Linked DNA regions of Homo sapiens: regions 1, 2 and 3 are each linked to region 4. The links are contacts of gene promoters, found by promoter capture Hi-C in blood cells and fetal thymus (Javierre and others, 2016). All regions are on one chromosome and are shown on one strand. The core of a region is centred on a gene start or on the middle of the fragment in contact, and the rest is flanking DNA. Distances in the headings are between cores, read along the strand shown.

Region 1 (2,700 bases), core at 196-2,695, 1.8 Mb before region 4:
TCGTTTCACACTCCAATCACCCCCGCCCGCTCTACACCCCCTGGGCACCCGATGCCTCTTCCCTCTGCCAGGCAATTTGCTTCCGTTCTGTTCAACTTTCCGACCTCTGGCTTTAGAGAATAGTCCTGGCTGTGGGAACTGGCTCTGGGAAGCTTTTGGCGCCCTCCTCATTGGTGACTGGCAAGAGTAACACTTTCACACTCTTAAAAAGAGCCGTTTAGTTCCTAATGATATTTTCTGGCAAAAAAGAAAATGAAACACACAACCCGGATTCCGGTCCACCAAACGCAGGCCAAGAGCGCGGCTGCTGAGCCCCGGTCTTGCTGTGAGGCTGTTGTTCCCACTCGCTTCCCGTTTCCACTAGAGTTGATTTGTCTCTTGCCACCTCTCCCCGGCAGTGTGGACCTACTGCAACGCAGGAACATCTGGGTTGGTATGGATAGGATCCTAGCATCAGATGCTGGCTGCTGCCCCAGGGACTTCCCGCGGAAATCACCCAGCACTTAGAAGCCGTTTCAATAAGGAAGTAACCAGTAAAGCATTGCTGGTGGGAGAACCCCGCGAAACATCTTAGAAAAATATCAGAAACCGCTGGAGACCTAATGACCCACGTCTCCTCCAGCCTGTGTTCCTCAGCCCTTTCTGGAGGAGTATTAAGTGGTTTGTGGGTTTTTACCCTGCGGTGGGAGGGCTGTTCCAAGTACATCTATTTCTGCGATAGTTAACGTCGGGGGGCCCCAGCTCTAACCAGGGCGAGGACCACGGACTGCATCCCTCTCTCTCAGCGCACTGGTCTGTTTACTGGAGGGTGAGAGGGACGCGCAGACCTCCGGACTCAGGGGTTCTGTTCTGTAGATCCCCCCACCCCACCCGGGGTCTCTGGCACTCGTATCACTTAGCACCAGTGTGACTGGCGGTGCATTCCGGCCCCCTCGCGCCCCATTAAAGCCCCTGCACATCCTCTCCCACGCTGCGCTTCTGCTACCCACGCAGCTGCTCCTCTGAGCGTCCCGCGTGCACAAACGCGCCCCCGGTCCTTACGCGTCGGTGGCGCTGCCTCGCTGAGGTGGCGCCGGGGGAGCCCGCAGAGGCGGCGGGGGAGGGAGTGCGGAGGAGAGGACCCGTGAGCTGCGGGGACCTGGGCCCGCCGAGCTTTTGGGGAAGCTGGGCTCCGTTCCCCCCGGGCGCCTGGGGCGCGCGGGAAGGCGCGGAGGACGCGCCGCACTCACCCGCTGCTGCTGCCGGCTGCTGACTGCCACCGCGGCGGCGGACGCGGCGCTGTGCCGGAGCTCGGCCGCCTGCCCAGGTCTCAACAGGCTCCGGGTGAACCTGCGGGTCCGCTCACCGGCCATCGCCGGTCACGCCAATCGCGCCGCGGGCCCGGGGCGCGCCTCCCGCCGGTCTTCCCCGCGCCAACCTTCTCTATCCACCCGCCGTTCAGGAAGCGGAACTCGGAGCCTTCCCCCCCCTCTTCCTCGCTCAACTCGCAAGAGGCGGGTTTTTCTCTCTTGCACCCCCACTCTTCCCACCCCCTTCCCTCCTCTGAAGCTTCTCGAAGACTTTCCAAACTCTGCGCTCCCCCGGGCGCGCGCGGCCAACTCGGCTGGCGGCCGGGCCCTGCAGCGGCGCATCTGGAGCGGGCGTCGCGGGACGCGTGTGGGGCGGCTCCTGCCCGCGCCGCCCACACGGGCTCAGCTGGCCGGCCGGGGCTGTCCACGCCGCCCGGGGGAACTGCAGGCTGCGGGGGAGGGCGGGGGGCGGCCGCCGAGGGGCTCCGGGCGGGGCCTGTCCAAGGCCGTCGCCTGTCCAAGGCCGTCAGCCTCATTTGGAGGTTGCTGGGAGAGTTGGAGCCCTGGATGCATTTGCCGTTTAGACTTCTATTTTCTGGGTCCGGCTAGTGGGTGGGGGCCAAGCTCGGTTCGCCCTTCCACCCTCGGGAAGGGGTCAGAGGCTTATTAAAGATCTGGTGGCTGGGATCCCAGCAGCATCGCCCAAGCCAGCGTTTGGAAGGCTCCCTTGCCAGAAGTCCATGTTCAGGGCCTTGGAATAAGCTTCCCCATTCATTCACTCCTTCAATGAGTATTTATTAAGCGCCTACTATATGCCAGCTCACACTGTTCTGGAAACTGAGGATACGGAGAGGAACTTAGCAACTACACTTTAAGGCTGTGTAGAGCTGATAGGTTTTTTCGGGGTAGGGGTGGGAGACAGCAAGTAACCAAGCGAACAAATAAACAAATACAGAGAAATCAAGGAGACAGTTTAAGCTACTAACACGAACTCAAAACCAATAAATCAGCGTTCTGGGGGTAAGAGACTTTGGGTGGCATTAGGATGAGTAGGCAAGAACCAACTGGCAGGGTTACTATGTAGGGTGGTCAGGTCGGGGGTGGATTTCACAGTTATGCTGTCTCTGCTCTTCTCTTGCCCATACCCATCTAGCCTGCACTTTGCCTCTAGATAGGTATCTGATGAAAGCCTTCTAAGAAGTCTCTTCCTGGGTCATACCCAGGGTGGTTCTGCAATTCAGTGTTGGACTGGATGGGGGGCAGAGAAGTTCTGGCCCCTGGATACTGGTCTGGAGAGATCTGGGACAGCCTTTCCAAGTGGTCTGGTTTTTTCTTAACAGCTTTTTATGGATCCATGACCCTGCCACTTTCTAAAGCCAATGATAGATAGTTATAACACAAGGTCACATTT
Region 2 (2,700 bases), core at 38-2,537, 1.1 Mb before region 4:
TTCTCTAGGATGTGACAGTTTCTCAGACTTTCCTTATTTTGGATGACCTTTGGAGCTTTGAGGAGTACTGGTATGGTATTTTGTAAACTGTCTCTCAATTTGGGTTTCTCTAGTGGTTTCTCATGATTAGAGTGGAGTTATGGGTTTTGAGGAGGAAGATGGCAGAGGTAAAAGTGTCTCTGGTCTCATCACATTATACCAAGGATACATACTGCCAGTATAGTTTACTACGGTTGATCGCCTGTTGGGGGTGATGTTTGCCAGGTTTCTTGTCCGTTTGGGGTGCCAGAACAGAATACTATACACTGGGTAGCTTATAAACAACAAAAAGTTATTTTTCACCGTTCTGGAAACTGAGAAGTCCAAGACCAGGGTGACAGCATGGTTATGATCTGGTAAAGACACTCTTCCTGGTTGCAGACTGTTGACTACTTGCTGTATCGGCAGCCTGGCTGAAGGGGTGGAAGAGCTCTCTTGGGATTATTTTATAAGAGTACTAGTCCCATGCACCTCCCAATCACCTTGAGGAGGTCCCACCTCTTAGTACCATCACCTCGAAGGTCAGGATCCCAACATAAGAATTTTAAGGGGGCACAAACGTTCAGACCATAACACCAGGTTCCTCCAATGTATAGTTACTTTCCTCCTAGCTTTCCACACTGTACTTTTTAGGAAGAAGTCACTGTGTGTAGCCCACAAAAAAGGGGTGGAGATTGAAATTTCACCTCCTAGACAGGAAGCTTCACTTGATTTTATTTCCATGGACTTATTATCCAAGGATGTTGCTTCTGCTGAATCATGCTGGTATAAAAATCTTGTCCTAGAGGTGTGTGTTCATATGAATTGAACAACTGTCCTACAGTTAACTTTTGATGTGTACTTACCTACTTACGTATACATTTTTTCTTTTCTTCATGGGATAAACAGTATAATAAATGCCTTTGGATTAAAGATAAGAAATAAGGCCATTGAATTAAATAACTAAACTAGAAGAGTTTATTTACTGGGCTTGGCTTCAAATTCGTTTTAATAGTCAATTCCCAGAGTTCTTTCAATTCCAGGGAGAGGTGGAATGGGATTTTACACATCTTTTTTTTTTCTTTTAAGAATATGAAGAATTTTGTGATAAAAGAAAAGAAAATAGAAAAGCGATGCAATTTTTTATGGGTAGTATTTTTAACATACTTCACATACTTGCTAAACATGCTATTTATTATATCCAAAACAATGAATGAAAGCATGACATCTTACTATCAACAAAAAATAATATTTAGATATATTTTTGGGGGACTCAACGATGGAAATGGCCACAGTAGCAACATTGGAGTTCGATTTTGAGAATTAAAATGACTATGCACCCAAACATGTGCTATTTAAAAATAAATGTGGGAAGCAGATATATCTTCCCACAATATAATTATATTCTATGTTTATTTATCACATCTTAACAGAAATATTTTGGGGGAGTTTAAATGGAAACAAATTGATAGCAGATATAAAATAAGAAGATTATATACTAGAATCTATATATTTGTTGAGATATTTTCAAATATATATTTATATTTTGAATGGACAATCTTCCAGCAACCTGAGTTTGAATTATTGTCTGATACCTAGCCATCTTTCATGTATTGGGCAATGCTTTTTTCATGGAAGTTTATATATTGGGCAATATTTTCTTACTCACTACACATGTCTCCAAAACATGAGTTAAATATTATGGAGTAAGTCTGAAAAAAAAAGTTATTTTCTTTTTCTAGCAATTCAGACCATTCTATCAATCAAGTGGACATATAACTATTTAATGCAAAATAAAAATCTAAAGAATAAAATTCCAAGCTTTATAATTTTTATTCTTATTCTTCTATTCTTTAGAGTTTAAGAAATATATTCTTAATAAATTTACACACCTCTATAGCATTTCTGCTTGACACAAAATACATATTTTATGGATAATACAGTACACTGTATATACATATATGAAATGTTATGCAACTGTGAAATATATAGGTGACCCTGTTGTCAAGGGAATCCAGAAAAATTATTTTTCAGTTGCACATACCAATTTATGCCAAAATATATTAAAGGGAATTAAGTAACACATGACTTAATGTTTGTGTAGACAACTAAATAAAATAAAATCATAGAAGTGATGCTGTAAGAAATATTGGGACTTAAAGAAGTTTGGAGGTTTTGCAATGATGTTGAAATGTATAGAACCCATAGTATTTTACTAAGAAGATTATCTGGATTTTATTTTATTTTTTTGAGAGACAACAAAAACTGTTCTATGATGTTGGCTTCTATTTAAGTCATAAAACTTCTATTGAAAGCCTAGGACTCTGTTCTACATGTTGGGACCACCAAGATGAGTGAGATTTGAAGCCTGTCCTCTGGGAATTCTGTGTTATAAATTTCATTATGACAGTTTGTAGTTACTCAATAAATTTTTCTTGCATTTTCACCAAAATAGAGTTACTGCATTTTTATTGCACAGATTATCATGTTATGAAATATTGTAAGTCTTTTGAAAAATTTCTGAGCCACTTTGACAGTCTCCTGTTGGAACACAAACTTATTCATTAGATTAACTCAACAAACACCTAAAATTTTATTTAAAAAGTGAATGCTCATGTCTACAGTCCTGAGCTAGGAATTAGAGGACACCAAAAGGCATAAAATACAGCCCATTTTTTCAAG
Region 3 (2,700 bases), core at 46-2,545, 1.1 Mb before region 4:
TATGTATATATATGTATGAGTGTATGTGTATAAATTTCTTGATTGAACTGTGAATTTGCCATAAATCCTACTTGTGATATTCTCCTAAATATAATTTGGATTCCTTTCCAGTACCCATAAGGAAACATTTGAGATTTCAAAGTTCTAAACCATAGAATCTAAGCGTATTAAATGTGCTAATGAGAAGATAAAATAACCATATGACACAGGCATGACTATGAGAGTGATGTGCAAAGCTGCATGAACTAACTCACATCCCTTGGCATAATCCTTTCTCCCTTGACTAAAACACATCCCTTTAGGAATGCTTTCTATTATTTTGTGCAGGGGAAAGTTCTTTCCATCAGATCATATGTGATTTCAAATGAAATATATGAGATACAATAAAACCCAAGCCAACACCATTAAACCCATCTAGAAGGAGTGTTACATCCTGGGTTTGTCATAGGTGTAGTTTAAAATGCCTACAATGATTCAAATCCCTTAATTCTCATTTTAGTTAGTCAATTATGGTGCTGGGACCTCCCAAAATACCCTAGTTGTTAGATATTCCAAGATGGCACAAGAGAATGCCCGGGATATTCTAAGTGTAATATAAACTTGTTGATGTGATTCCCTAATTATGGAAGGGAGGGGTTTCATATTGCTCAATAAGATGGTGCTGCCAGTAAAATTTGCAGAGTGATTAATCAGGACTTTATTTTAAGTTCAGGCAACAAATTTCAACTTGACAAGGTCTGCCTATTCTATTACTTCTCCCTGAATTCTGTTCCTAGGCCTGTGGTCTGAGCATATGACTGTAGAGAAGCCAGTGTCAGATACCCTGTGGTTGTCGGGGAGCATCTCTTTGCAGGGTCTTAACCCTTCCCCCGGCCTCTCTCCTCTGTGAGGTCCTGCCTCTTTTTAATGGGTATCTTGTGTTAGGCACCTCCCTAGTCTGAACCAGAGCTGCCACTCCACGGGAGGAAGGGATGCTTTAGATCTTGATATGAAAAAGGAAAAGGGGGCAAGAACTCACTGTGACCTTATAGCATGACTTTGATGCAAGGGGTCTTAATGGCAATCAGATCTTTACATAGTGAAGATTAACCTCTTGTTTGCATAGTGCCTGTCTCTTGTTAGGTGTTTCCCTGCCTTGCTTTGCACTGCATCATAGAAGAAATGTTTGCTATTGCCTTAGCCTGGATGGAGTGAGGGTCTGTGTTCAGCATAGAACGGGATAAAACCTACCTGCTCTACTACACAATCAGAACAATTACCATTTGTTCTTTGATCCCTGAGGTTTCCTTGGCTTGGTGGGGGATGGGGGTCTACACAAACATTTGCCTGAGACACTTTGAGAAAATACTCTGCTTATTTTATTAGGTATGAAGATCAAGGGTATATTGATCATCAAACAATTTAAACCCTTTGGTTTAGCAAATATGGTTTTTGTTTCTACACTAGCGTGTTTATACATATATTCCTCTATGCAAATGTATGCTAATATATATACATGCATATATATGTGTGCTTTATATATAAGTGAATATGTGTATGTATGTATGTACATGTATACCTACCTATTTATCTATCTACCATGCAAAGATAGGTCCTGAAGTTTGGGACCTATCTTTGCATGATGGATAGATAAATAGATAGGTACACATGTACATACATACATACATACATACACATACTCGCAGAGTGAAATTGGTCTGTATAGTTATGTAGTGGTAGCAAGGAAAGTCAGGAGTAACTCATAAACTGGTATGAGGAGAAGAGTGAGCCAGAGAAGGACTCTTGGGGGAAAGGAAGAAACCTAGACCAAGATAGGATATCAGAGATTGAGGAAAAAGATGGTTCATGAGAATTTCTCTGCAATGGAATTGGTCAATATAGTTAATTCATTTTGATATCAAATATTCACAATTTGCTTCTTGTTTTGTGCTGAGGCACAGCAACAATTTTCACCACCTCCAACTTTTATTGAGAAGTTTCGCCTGCACTAGCTGCATGAAGAAGATGCCAGCTGGAGCCCAACAGCAGGGAAGACTCAACCAGCAGTGGTGGAGTGGGCAGCAGGTACTCCCTGAGGGTGGAAGGTGGGCCGGATGGAGGCTGGGTACTGCCTCACATGTGAAGGGTCACCCATGTGGCAGATCCAGGCCAGTTAGCCCAATGGTTCTCCACAGGGTATGATTTTGTCCCCCAGGGGACCTCTGGCAATGTCTTGAGACATTTTGGTTGTCTTAATGGAGGACAGGACAACTGGCATCTGGAGGAAGAGGCCAGAGATGTTACTAAACATTCTATAACACACAAGTCAGGCTCCACAACAGAGTTATCCACCTCCAATGTCAATAGCGCTGAGGTTAAGAAACCCTAGGTTAGACATACACATTTTCAATTATAGCAGGATGCAATTTAAATTCCTGGCATTGAACATAGAACTTTAGAAAATGTCCCTTCTCCATGTTCTAAAAGATTCTACATCCTGTGGTTTGAGGAACTCCCCCATCTTTTTTTTTTCCCACTCAGCCCTCCCTTTCTAAACTTCACCGCCCCACTCCACACCTCAAAGAGTGAAGGGGCTAGCTGACATATAACTAAAGCTCTGAAGTGGAAAGAAGGCAATATTTCAGATTGCAAAAAAGGACTTGAGATTAATATTATTAATGAACAATAGTTAAATAGTCTAGCACTTTTGTCAGAGACATA
Region 4 (2,700 bases), core at 183-2,682:
AGCACGGTTGTGCAGCTGTAGGAGAGCCTGGTACCAGCTGTCTTGCTCGGCCTCGCTGTCCGCCGCGATGGCAAAGTGCTCGTCCCGGGTGTAGAGAGCCACCAGGTGCTTGTTCTTGGAGTCAGCCCGCTTGTTGATGTTGAAGCAGCTCTCAAGGGGGATCGAGCGTTTGGGGGCGCTCGACTTGTGCCGCCACTTCTTCTCGTTCTCGTAGTACTCGAGGCGCGCCGGGCCCCCAGCCTCGCTGGCCGCGCGCAGTACGAAGAAGCGTTTGTGCATGCTCTTGGGTTTGCGCAGGTAGCCCACCTTGCGCACGTCCGAGAAGCCATCGCTCTCCGGAGGGCTCGCCATGCTGCCACCGCCACCACCAACGCTGAGCAGAGGGAGGCTCCGAAAAACAACCGGGTGGGGGGCGGAGGCTCCTCGCCGCGGCCCGGCACATGCAAACAGGGCTGGAGGCAGCAGAAACCCCGACTCTGAAATCCACGCCGCCCCCCGCGCCGGGGAGGGGCAGCTGAAGGAGGACGCAGCTGCTGAGCCCAGGAGAGAGCCCGACCGGAGTTTTCGGGCGCTTCACGCCCGGCGGGGAGGCAGTGCGTCCGGGGTGAGGGCAGCCCCGATCCTCCGAGAGCCAAGTCTCCTCTCAGCCGCCGCCGCCACCAGGAAGGAGCGAAGATGCATCTCTCGTCGCCCCGGCTGGAGTCCGGCACAGGGAGGCGACAGTCGGGGGTCCCTGCGGTGCCCCTCCAGGAGCGCGCGCGCGCGCGCGCCTTCCCTCCTGAGTTCCCCTCTGGAAGCAGCGATTCCCGAGGCAAATTAAATATCCTTGGGCAGGGGGAGGCGGGTTGCCAAGTCCCAACGTTGCACGGGGTTCTCCCTCCTCCTTCGCCTCCTCCCACCCCCCAACCGTCCCAGCCGCCACCAGCCGCCCAAATACCAGCTCAGTCGCAGAGACCGCGGCGCTGCGGCTGTTGCTGTTGCTGCTGCTGCTGCTGCTGCTGCTGCCGCCGCCCGCGGGCGCGTCCTCTGCAGCCCCCATCCGGGCCCATCTCGGCGGGTGGAGAAAGTGGCTTTTCCATGCGAAACGATACCGGGCAGCCACTGCAGCTGGGGACCGGCCGGAGGGACAGACTCATCCCTGCCCCTCGCTCCAGGCGGCTGGGGAGGAGGGGAGGGGACAAGGGCGAGAGGGGATGGGGGAGGTTTGGGAAGGGTTCGGGGAAGACGCCTGTTCCTCGGGAGGCGCTGCCGCTGCAGTTACTTCTCCCCTCCTCCCTCCTCCTCCTCCTCCTCGGAGAGTTGCCGAGAGCCCCAACCAAAACAAGCGGCGGCGTCTGGCTCTGCGCGCCGGCCCCCTCCGACCGCGCCGCCGTCTCACTCGGAGGAGAAAAACACGTGACGGAGCCTCCGCGCTCGGCAGCCGGGCAGCCGCCGCCGGGAGGCTCCCGCCCGGGTCTCTACATTCCGGGCCGAGCCCGCCCCGCGCCCGCCCCTCTCCGCCCCCCAGCCGTGCTGCAGCGGCGCCCGCGCCGACCCCGGCGCAGCGCTAGGACAGCGCCCCTGCGCGGCCGCCAGCTCCGGCGCAGCGCCTCCCTACACGCGCGCCAACCGGGGCGCCCCCGGCCCGCAGGAATCCCCGCGGCGGGCGCAGGCGGGGGTGTTTGGGTGGCTACCCGAAAGCACGAGGGGAGTCTGGGAAAACGGGAGGGGGCGAGCTCGGGAAGACGCAGGAGTGAGGGTGGGGGGCCACGGGGGGGCACTGCGGCTACAGAGCCCCGAGTGGGAGGCCGGGGGGAGGCGGGGGCGCCGGAGCTGGGCTGCCTCTTACCTATCAGGTAAGACTGACCCACGGGAGGGAGGTTTCTAGTCAAGGCTGTTTCCCCCAGGAAATTTAAAAGCTAGATTTCGGCTTCAGGGCGATAGGCCATGGTGAGGGGATCTGTATTTTTTAAGGTTTTTCTAAAGGACTTCTGGGCCAGCCTTCCACCTTGGGATCCCCAGATTTGCTGCCGTGAGGTACCTGGAAGGAACAGAGGGACGCCCAAGGGCAGTGACTGGGGGCAGTTATGGTCACTACAAAAGGAGAACAGGGATCCCCAGGAAGTGTCTCACGTCCGGCGCTGTGGAATTAGTTGCTGATCAAGTAGGGAGAAAATGTAAATATCACCTTTTCTCCTGCTCCCCTTGCCCATCCGTGTGACGGGGGGACTCACACCTAAGGCTGAGGGCATGGGGGAGGGGAAATGAGAGGTCCCTTATCATATTCCGAAGTCTATCCGTGACTTTAAAAAGCTGTTAGGGACCTTCAGAGGGTTCATAAGGCCAAAACCCTACTGTGCAAATATTGGCTGAAATGTTTGTTTCACACACAGCTCCCACACCCATTGAACCACCCTATAAGTTTTTAACCTTGACCACAAGGATAACAGGGAGAAAACAAGGATGGTGCCAGCTCAACTGTACAGGAAAATGGTTACTTCATGAGTGGACCAGATCAGCAGCCTGGGTCTACTTGAAGCGCCCCTTTCAGGGTCACCTTGCGGTATCAGTCTCCCCACAAACAAACGCTCCCCAGAGTTTTTTTATTTTTTAAGCCGACCTATAAACAAGCAGTTTGTCCCTGCTTGCTCGCCTGGCACTAAGGACCCACAGAGATGTCACTCGGTTTAATGCTGTCTCATTTTGATGCCTGGCCCGTTT

Evidence for each region. Contacts are between HindIII fragments. The CHiCAGO score rates a contact against its expected background, and 5 or more counts as called.
Region 1: the fragment with the promoter of DOCK10 here is called in contact with the fragment with the promoter of IRS1 in region 4 in 2 of 17 cell types (naive CD8 T cells and activated CD4 T cells); the score reaches 5.9 in naive CD8 T cells.
Region 2: a fragment that was not itself captured here is called in contact with the fragment with the promoter of IRS1 in region 4 in 5 of 17 cell types (M0 macrophages, M2 macrophages, total CD4 T cells and 2 more); the score reaches 6.3 in M0 macrophages.
Region 3: a fragment that was not itself captured here is called in contact with the fragment with the promoter of IRS1 in region 4 in 1 of 17 cell types (M1 macrophages); the score reaches 5.3 in M1 macrophages.

What each region holds. Positions count from the first base shown.
Region 1 is chr2:225,041,023-225,043,722 of GRCh38, forward strand. DOCK10 (dedicator of cytokinesis 10) reads right to left here and starts at 1,446. Exons shown (of 56, transcript NM_014689.3): 1 at 1,230-1,446. The coding sequence starts at 1,352. RefSeq lists an enhancer at 153-492 and silencers at 1,043-1,282, 1,473-1,842. The HindIII fragment of the contact is 1,396 bases long and covers 151-1,546 here.
Region 2 is chr2:225,693,213-225,695,912 of GRCh38, forward strand. All of the region lies in intron 7 of NYAP2 (neuronal tyrosine-phosphorylated phosphoinositide-3-kinase adaptor 2), which reads left to right. The region is part of intron 5 of LOC105373914 (a long non-coding RNA gene); the gene reads right to left. Among named protein-coding and RNA genes, the nearest start is that of NYAP2, 290 kb to the left of the region's middle. The HindIII fragment of the contact is 1,099 bases long and covers 739-1,837 here.
Region 3 is chr2:225,732,826-225,735,525 of GRCh38, forward strand. The region is part of intron 4 of LOC105373914 (a long non-coding RNA gene); the gene reads right to left. Among named protein-coding and RNA genes, the nearest start is that of NYAP2, 330 kb to the left of the region's middle. The HindIII fragment of the contact is 3,361 bases long and covers 1-2,700 here.
Region 4 is chr2:226,798,388-226,801,087 of GRCh38, forward strand. It overlaps IRS1 (insulin receptor substrate 1), which reads right to left and starts at 1,433. Exons shown (of 2, transcript NM_005544.3): 1 at 1-1,433. The coding sequence starts at 351. It also overlaps a transcript of RHBDD1 not described here. RefSeq lists silencers at 252-301, 1,292-1,711, 1,732-1,801. The HindIII fragment of the contact is 8,747 bases long and covers 1-2,700 here.